2 separate regions of the Homo sapiens genome follow, and region 1 is linked to region 2. Evidence: promoter capture Hi-C in 16 types of primary human blood cells and fetal thymus (Javierre and others, 2016). All regions are on one chromosome and are shown on one strand. The core of a region is centred on a gene start or on the middle of the fragment in contact, and the rest is flanking DNA. Distances in the headings are between cores, read along the strand shown.

The links. The method cuts DNA at HindIII sites, captures the fragments that hold promoters and counts their contacts. A CHiCAGO score of 5 or more calls a contact.
Region 1: a contact is called between a fragment that was not itself captured here and the fragment with the promoter of CLEC4F in region 2, in 4 of 17 cell types (non-activated CD4 T cells, naive CD4 T cells, M2 macrophages and 1 more). The highest score is 6.8, in non-activated CD4 T cells.

What each region holds. Positions count from the first base shown.
Region 1 is chr2:70,313,582-70,318,612 of GRCh38, forward strand. No RefSeq gene overlaps it. Among named protein-coding and RNA genes, the nearest start is that of FAM136A, 14 kb to the left of the region's middle. The HindIII fragment of the contact is 6,397 bases long and covers 1-5,031 here.
Region 2 is chr2:70,817,388-70,822,059 of GRCh38, forward strand. CLEC4F (C-type lectin domain family 4 member F) reads right to left here and starts at 3,212. Exons shown (of 7, transcript NM_173535.3): 1 at 3,076-3,212; 2 at 2,388-2,504; 3 at 1,968-2,057. The coding sequence starts at 3,136. The HindIII fragment of the contact is 10,753 bases long and covers 1-4,672 here.

The DNA of each region.
Region 1 (5,031 bases), core at 1,163-3,662, 500 kb before region 2:
ATGATGGCGCCGTTGTACTCCAGCCTGGGTGACAGAGTGAGACTCCATCTCAAAATAAATAAATAAAATAGAAAATACTTATTTTGGCTGGGTGCGGTGGCTCACGCCTGTCATCCCAGCACTTTGGGAGGCTGAGGCAAGTGAATCACGAGGTTAGGAGTTTGAGACCAGCCTAGCCAACATGGTGAAACCTCATCTCTACTAAAATTACAAAAAATTAGCTGGGCGTAGTGGCAGGTACCTATAATCCCAGCTACTTGGGAGGCTGAGGCAGGAGAATCGCTTGAACCCGGGCGGCGGAGGTTGCAGTGAGCTGAGATCGTGCCACTGCACTCCAGCCTGGGTGACAGAGTGAGACTCTGCCTCAAAAAAAAAAAAAAAAAAAAAAAGAAAATATTTATTTTTAGTAGAAACAAGGTCTTCCTATGCTGCCCATGTTGGCCTTAGGCTCCTGGCCTCAAGAGATCCTCTTGCCTTGATCTCCCAAAATGCTGAGATTGAGGCAGGAAAATAGGGTCTGGAGGCTGGGAACATAAGGCTGATTCAGACTTCAGCTATGAGAAGAAATATTCTCTACATAGGGCATACACCAAGTAAATGACTTTGTAACTACTTCATCCTCTTCATTTACATCGGGTGTACCCCAAGTAGAGGGTATTTAAACTCACGAAAACTCTGTAACAGGACCCTTGGGTCCCTATGCTCAGGTCTGCTCCTACACTGTGGAGTGTACTTTTATTTTCAATAAATCCCTTCATTCCTTCCTTGTTTTGTTTGTGTGCTTTGTCCAATTCTTTGTTCAAGATGCCAAGAACCTGGACACCCTCCACTGTTAAAAAGATTATAGGCGTAAGCCACCGTGCCAGGCCTGAGTTTGAGAATTCTTGATCCAAATCAACCTTCTCATGAAACTGGGCCCTAGAAAGACATGGGTTTCATGTCATCACAGTGGGTGTCAGAAATTAGAATACACATGGATATCTCTGACTGTCATCCCAGTGTGTTTTCTATACACCTCTGAAATGACATGGCTTGAATACCCCGGCCTCTGTCCTCCCCATCCTCTGGGTCACATTCTCTTGAAGCCACTTCATGATAACACTCCTTGTTGCAAGGTAGGCCATGGAGCTGAGTGCAAGTGGGGGCTGAGTGGGGCCTCACTTTTCTCATCTGGGATTTTACCTTCAAAGATAATAACAGTAGCTTCTGTTTACTGAGCACCCATTGTGCACCAGATATACCAGGCACATAAAGATAGGACTTCTAACCCTCTCCACAGCTTTGCAGATGTTACTGTTATCCTTATTTGGCAGACAAGTGTCAAAACCACATTCAGACTTAGTAAGAAGACACTTTAATTCAAAAGGATTGTTGCAGCCGGACATGGTGCTGTACAACTGCAGTGTCAGCTACTCTGGAGGGCTATTTGGGAAGCAGGAGGATCACTTGAGCTCAGGAATTCTAGTTCAGCTTGGACAACACAGCCGGATCCCATCTTTAAAAAAAGAAGATTGCTGCAATAGGGGAGGGGACTATTGCAATAGAGGGAGAAGGACTGTTGCATTAGGGGGAGGGTACAATTGAGTAGGAGGAGGGGAGTATCGCACTGGGGTAGGGGACTGTTGCAATGGGGGAGAGAGAATATTGTAATAGTGGAGGGGACTAATGCAGTGGGGGAAGGGACTACGTCAGTAGGGAGCACCTTGTGACCTTAACATCTGCAAAGATCTTGAGAGTTAGACAAAGAAGAGAAGAAGAGTTTTTTCTTTTTCTTTTTTTTTTTTTTTTTTTTGAGACAGAGTCTTACTTTGTCACCCAGGTTGGAGTGCAGCAGTGTGATCTCTGCTCACTGCAACCTCTGCCTCCCGGGTTCAAGTGATTCTCATATCTCAGCCTCCCGAGTAGCTGGGATTACAGGCATGTGCCACCACACCCATCTACATTTTTTATTTTTAGTAGAGATGGGGTTTTGCCACGTTGGCCAGGCTGGCTGAGACCTCAGGTGACCTCCTGACCTCAAGTGATCTGCCCTCCTCAGCCTCCCAAAGTACTGGGATTACAAATGTGAGCCACTGTGCCTGGCCAAGAGTTTTTTTAAAGGAGTAAAAAAGCTAGAAAAGAACCAGGTGTTGGGAAGCAGGAGAAGAGGATGATGTGACCAATGAGATAGTAGATCAGAGAATGTTTTACTGTGAGGCTAGCATATTTTCTGGGAGGAAACTCTCAAGAGTGTTGTGTGGCTCAGGCTCAGGGTGGCCAAACCTCAGAGGTCTGGAGAGAGGAGGAAAGCTCTCAACCCAAAGTTTGGTTAACCGACATCTTGTTCCTATTGATCAATGGGAGCAAGCAATTCAGGTAATTATTTATAAGGTAAAGAATGGGAATTTGGAATCTGTGTCTGGCCTGGTCATAAGTAAACAAGGGAGGCATGTGTGAGTTTTCTCTAAGTCATATGGAGAAGTATGAGTCCTTGCAGTAAGCGTTTTCCAGAACACAAAGAGTTAGGGATTTCTTAACCTTCACTGTTCTTCAGAATCACTGGGCTCAGGTAAAATTCAACATTGTCAGGAGAAAGTGCTTTTAGAGGTCAAGTACATTGTTTAAGGTCACACTGCTAAGACACAGTGGAAAAGGGACTCAAATGAGATCTGATGGACTCCAAAACTCACATCTTCTCCCCTGCTCCTGCTGACCTTGCAAGTCTAAAATTGTATTGTCAATCAGAGCATTTCTCACAGCATCTGGTGGAGTGCTGGTCAGATGTACCTGGTAAATACTTATTGAGTTGAACTGTCCCATTTTTCCAGGGTGGTGAGGGTAGGGTGAGAATGTGAGAATGTGTGGGTTGGTTCATAGCTATTATATCTTTTTTTTTTTTTTTGAGATAGGGTCTTGCTCTGTTGCCAAGGCTAGAGTGCAGTGGCATAATCATGTCTTACTGCAACCTCCCACCTCAGCCTCTCAAGTAAGTGGGACCACAGGCATGCGCCATCATGCCCAGCTAAGTTTCGTATTTTTTTTAGAGACAAGGTCTTGCTCTGTTACCCAGGTTGGTCTCGAACTCCTGGGCTCAAGCAATCTGCCCACTTTTGCCTCTTAAAGTGCTATATGCATGGGTGTAAATGTGAAATTATATTTCCTACTGTGGATAATGATCAAAAGAGTTTGGAAAGTCCTGAGCTGAAGTACTGTGTAGGTTGCAGATCTAGTTTCTGTTGAAAACATTGGTTTACAGATTCAATCTTGGGCTGAGCATCAAACTCTTCTGTGTTCTTAGCCTACTTCTGCCAACTTGTCCTTCAGCTAACTCAGTGATAGAGCCACTCCCTTTTCTCTTCCTTCCTTCTCCCTTTTATAAATTGTGACAATACTATTAACTCTCAGGGGTGTGGTGGCAGGCAGTTAGTGTCTCTGAGGTATGAGGTAAATAATTATTATTGTTCCTGGGAATCCTGTATTTCCCTTTCTCCCCCTCTTATTACTGTGGTTGTTATAGCAAAACAACAATGGTGATAATAATAATAATTTGTGGAACCTGTTGTGGTCCAGGCCTTGGGAGCAGAAGTGCTGAGGAGCCCCTTAAGGAAGGTCTCTTGTGGGGCTGGGCTCTGTTCCACCACAGGAGGCGACCTCAGGCCTGTCACACACACTCAACCCAAAGGGCTCTGCTTCTCCTTACAGTAAAAGTCCATTCAGGGAACTTTGGTTGAAATCTTTGGATCTGGGTTGGTCTTAGGTATTCCTTTCTCTGGGATTCAATTTCTTTATCTGTAAAATGAGCTTGACTGGATTAAACCATCTCTCTGGTTCCTTACCAAAGAGGCCAAGAGTCCCTTCTTAATCAGGCAACATCCCTGGCTCCAAATTGTGAAGAGTAAGAAGAGAGGAGAGATCCATTCTGAGGCATTGTCAAGACTGGGTGGGGTGGTGGGATTTGAGGAGATATTGTCAAAGTTGTGGACAGTTAGAGGGCTGAATGTGGACACTAGGCTCCTGAAAGGACAAGGGATTAGGACAGAAGTTTTAAGAGGGGATCCAGAGTTGCCAAAGACTTATTTCATCTACTGTAAATACTGAATACTTTACCCGTGTAAACACCATGCCACACAGATATTCAAAATATATCCAAGCTCAACAAGAAGAGTGATACTAATGGCTGGACCTAGGTTCTCTTGGTGATATTAGAACATCAGTGGCACTTTACATAAAGTCAGACATCTCAGTTCTGACAGGACAAGCATCTGGCCCAGGACCACTGTGGGTCATTTAATCCTGGAGAAATGAAAAGGTTGCCGTCAACTTTTCTTCTTTTTTTTGGCAGGGTCTTACTTAGGCTGGAGGGCAGTGGCAGGATCACAGCTCAAGTGATCCTTTCACCTCGGCCTCCTGAGTAGCTGGGACTACAGTTGTGCTCCACCATGCCCAGCTAATATTTTACTTTCTGTAGAGACGGGGTCTTACTGTGTTGCCTAGGCTGATCTCGAAATCCTGAGCTCAAGCAATCCTTCCACTTTGGCCCCACCAAAGTGCTGGGATTACAGGCGTGAGCTACCAGCCCCAGCTTGCCTTCAACCTTTAAAGACAAGATCTGTACACTTATTTTTGTCATTAAGTCAATGTAACTTAGTGGGGTGTGGGGAGGGTGATGGTGGGCTGAGAAGGGATAGTTGCCATTTAGGTGGTCTGTGCTGAGAGGGGGTGAGAGATGCTTCAGGGAATGAGGGAGGGGCTGTCATTATACCAGCAGCACCGCTGGGCTTGGGACCTCTAGCCATGGCTTGTGGCTCCTGGTCAGGAACCCAAGAGAGGCAAGACCATCAGGTTCCAGCTGAACTTTTAGCAGACATGCGGGGTGGCTCCACCGAACACCAAAGGAGGTGGGACGCATTTCTTCTCCTGACTTGAGGTTATGCTGGCCATGACCAGAAAGAACATTAGTGGGATTTTCTCTCTTCCCTGTTAGAAGCATGGAGAGTAGCTTAGCAGAGGGCCAGCTGAGCACATTCTTAATGGAAGGGCAGAGGGGAGGAG
Region 2 (4,672 bases), core at 1,962-4,461:
CCAGGAGTCATGCTGGTAAGGCTTGGATTATTTTGTCGTTATAATTGCTCAACTTGAAAGTAACTGATTTTATCATTTAGAGCTGTTGAAGTTTAATTTTACTGGAATTTCACCACAGATGGGTCATTATGGGAAAGAAAATAGGTATGAATAAAGCCTGTGGTTAGTCCTACATTATATTTGTACACCAAGCATAGAGCCTCTTGATTCACCATTGTTACTTGATAAAAACCACCACAAACATAAGTTTTATGATGGCAAATTCCATGGAGAAGAAAACACAAAGGAAAGAAACAGAAACAAAACAAAATAGGTGTGCTGGGAGGAAGTACCCTGTTCAATCAACAGGGCTATGATAGAGGCATGCCATGCCCTCCAGGTAACTAACACTGGACCTCAGCTGAGATGGCCTTTTAAAGAGCCAGCACCCCCAGTGTTACATAGGGCAAGGGTCCCTACAGAACAGTTTGAGGATACAGGAAACCTGAGTAAAAGGCCTTGCGCTGGGGTCGTTGAAGGAGACCCCACAGCCCCTTTAATCTGCAAGGTCTTTCCCACCAACCTCACATGCATCTACCTCTGGTCCTGCTAGCATCCTTTGTTCACCTCATGAACTAGGACCTAATCTCACACATCCATGATCCCCTTCTGATTCCAGTCTCCCCTCAGGAATAGGGAGAAAAACCCAAGATGGCAGGGACCCTTTCTGGAGCATCCATGTACTATTTCTCATGCACTGCCTATGTAGATGTGTGAGACCTCAGTTACTGTGCTAAGGTAAGAGAGGGGACCTTTCAAGGTACTGGGAGTTCAGTCAAAGATTCTGCTTTGTAAAGATAGACAAACAAATCAATGCGACAGAATGGAGAATACGGAAGTAGACCCCCACACATATGGACAATCGAATTTCAACAAAGGTGCAAAGGCAATTCACGGAGAAAGATAACTTTTTCAACAAATGGTGCTGGAACAATCAATTTCACACCATTATACAATAATTAACTCAAATGAGGCAGAGACCTAAATGTAAAACTAAAAACCGGGCTGGGCATGGTGGCTCACGCCTGTAATCCCAGCACTTTGGGAGGCTGAGGTGGGCAGATCACGAGGTCAGGGGATCGAGACCATCCTGGCTAACACGGTGAAACTCCGTCTCTACTAAAAATACAAAAAATTAGCCAGGCGTGGTGGCGGGCGCCTGTAGTCCTAGCTACTCCAGAGGCTGAGGCAGGAGAATGGCATGAACCTGGGAGGCAGAGCTTGCAGTGAGCCGAGATCACGCCACTGCACTCCAGCCTGGGTGACAGAGCGAGACTCCGTCAAAAAACAAAAACAAAAACTAAAACTAAAAACTGTACAATTTCCAGAAACAAAGGAGAACATCTTTGTAGCCTTGGATTAGGCAGATTTCTCACATACGAGATCATGAGAATAATCCATAACAGAAATAAAATGATAAATTAGACTATCAAAATTAAAATCTTGTTAGGAGAATGACAAGACAAGTCACAGACTGAGAGAAAAATATTTGCAAATCACATGACTAGCAAAGAACAAAGAGTACATACTCTATGATCTCTTATCTATAAAACTCTAGAAAAAGCAAACTAATCTATAGTTACAGCAAGTAGATCTGTGGCTGCCCAGGGATGAGGAGAGGAAGGGAGAGGAAGGAATTACAAAGAGCCACAAGGAAACTTTGGGGTGAGGAGGATGACTATGTGATGATGATTGTGGTGATGGTTTCAGGGGCACACACATATGTCAAAACTTAACAGATTGTATGCTTTAAATATATACACCATTAGACCTCAATAAAACTGTGTTTTTAAAAAATTATCTCTTTCTGTGAGGATGGTGGAGCCCATTCAGTGGTCAGAGGGTACCAGGAGAGAAGCTCATCCTAGGGTCTGAGCATCTGAAGGCCCCAGTTCCCTCTGCACCCCACCCCCACTGTGGCTACTCACTGTTGGGTTCAAAAGGTAAATGCCCAGTAATGTTGTCTCCCAGAATTACGGCTTGCACAGGCTTCGGAACAGGTCTTGTCTGCTGTTGAACTGAGACATTCCATTTTTCCAGGTCAGCAAATCCCCAGCCCTGAGCCTGGGAGGATACGCTGTCCCACACAGAGGTAGAGTTCCAGAACCGGGGAGATAGCAGCAAAGACCCTCCCAGGGTTTCCCTCATGAACCTCAGTTCTTGGGAGGCTCCCCCTTGGACAGTGGCCTTTATCTGTTCCCAGGGAAGCTGTGGCTTGGGCCTGGAGCTGGAGGTGGAATGATCTTTCTGGGAGCAGAGAGGCCCAGAGAGTGTGCATCTGGGGCCCCTGGGGACTTTGTGCTGAAAGGAGAGAAAGTTAGTGAGATTTGGGTCACCTGGGGGCTTACCCACTACAAAGAGAGTCACAAGAGAGAAGACCAAGGTCACAGCCATAAATGCCGGGGTAGCCTGAACGAGCCTCGGTATCTTGGGGGCTGCAGGAGCCATTGCCACAGAGTCCACCTCTGCAGGGGAGAAGGCAGTGTCCAAGGTGAGAGGGTGCTGTGCAAGGTAAGAGGGTGCTGTGCAGGCTGAGACACAGCCTCTCTGATTCTGTTTCCTGGGTTGTCTAATGGGGATGATAACTCCTGCCATGCTTATCATGCAGGTGGTTATGGAGAAGGAAGACAAAACACTTTGGGCTGTTCACCAGAGCTAGATGTGGATATGGTAGCAACACAGAGCTGAGGAGCTCTGAGACCGAGACCACCGATCTCCAAATCTCAAGGAGGCTTTGGTGGTGCACAGGGCACAGAACCTGGCACAGAGCACAGAGCAACAAAAGTGTAGTTTGAATGAAAGAAGAAAGGAAGGGAGGGAGGCCTCACAGGACCAGCTCAGTGTGCAGAGCCGGGATTCCAAGCCAGGACCATCTGAATTCAAAGTTCATCCCCTTTCTCTTGCCAGGTCTGCATCCCCAAGGACAAGGGTCTGGGGAGAGCAATAAGACAGCAATAAGCTGCCTTATGGCAGAGGGCCAAAGGACAGGCAGGCTACTCCCTCACTGGGCAAGAGCTGGGGCCCCAGTTTTCTCACCTTGGGGGTGCAGGGAGACACACTGGTTATCTGTGCAGAAGCGGACTGCCTCACCGTCCATCTCTGCTTCCTTGATCCTCCAGCACTGCTCCCAGCCACTGGCTCCTGGAAGGGCCGTCCCGTGGACCAATGGCAGTGGAAGCAAAGCTGAGACACCCACACTTATATGCTCCTGACCACCCTCCCAGCTCTTCCTCCCTCCCTGCCTGACTCTGCAGAAACCCGCCCCAGTGGGCCCCTCCCCTAGAGGCTCCCAGATACCCATCTGCCCTATTTTCTTCCTCTTCCCATTAGCACCTTCCCGTCAGTTCTCAGCCCCATCATCCCAGCCTCTGCCGCATCCAGCATAACCCCAAACACACCTCTTCTTCTCTGGGGGCTGGGACTGGCACCTAGGAAGGGGGTCTCAGCTTTGCACAGAAAACATCCTTATGACTATGGCTGACCTTTAATTCTAGCCTCAGAACCTCTTAAGTAAAAGGAGTCAGGTAAAAGAGGGGCCAGGTCAGTGCGGCCGATATTTGCAGGTCAAAGGAGGAAGCGGGGTGACCAGCCACTTGGGGACTCACAACTGAATTATAGTATACAGGAGGATGTGCGGAGGTTATATAAAAATACTACATGATTTTGTACAAGGGACTTGAGCATCTGTGGACTTTGGTACCCATGGGAGTCCTGAAACAAATCCCCTGCAGATACCAAGGGACAACTCTGTAAAAAATATATCTGGTCTTCATCTCAGTTCCTGACACAGAACTCCTAAAACGCTTAGAGTTTCCTGGGTGACAGGAGTGTTTTTTGTTATTCATAATAAGCCCCTTAGGACTACACTTGGGTTTATGCTAATGAGGTGACACAGGGTGGACCCTTAGATAATTTCAGGCTGGAGGCTGGTCCCAGAAAGACCAAACATGGGATTAGACTTTGGAAGACTGGGACTTTCAGCCACCCACTCCCATTCCCTACTCCCAGACCTCCAGGTATGGGAGATGGCCTGGGGTCTGGGCTATAACGACTCTTAAAAAATGAGATTCAAGGAGCTTAGGGATTGGTGATCCACATGCCAGGAGGGTGTCATGCCCTGACTCCACAGAGACAGAGTCTCCTGCACTTGGGACCCCACTGGGCCTTGCCCTGTGTACCTCTTCATCAGGCTGTTTTTGTCCTTTACAATAAAAGAATAGGAAGTACAGTGTTTTTCTGAGTTCTGTGAATTGTTCTAGTGAATTATGAAAACTGAGAGGTTGTTGCAGAAACCCCCTAATTTTTTGTTTGAGACAGGGTCTCCCTCTGTCACTCAGGCTGGAGTGCAGTGGTACGATCATAAGTCAATGCAGCCTTGAACTCCTGGACACAAGTGATCCTCAGTTCTCAGCCCCAACATCCCAGCCTCTGTCACATCCAGCATAACCCCAGCATAACTGGGACTACAGGTGTGTGCCAACATACCTGGCTAATTTTTTATTTTTATTTTTTTGTAGAGATGGGATCTCTTTTTATACCCCAGGCTGGTCTGGAACTCCTGGCTTCAAGTGATCCTCCCACCTCAGCCTCCCAAAGTGCTGGGACTACAGGCATGAGCCACCTTGCCTAGCCA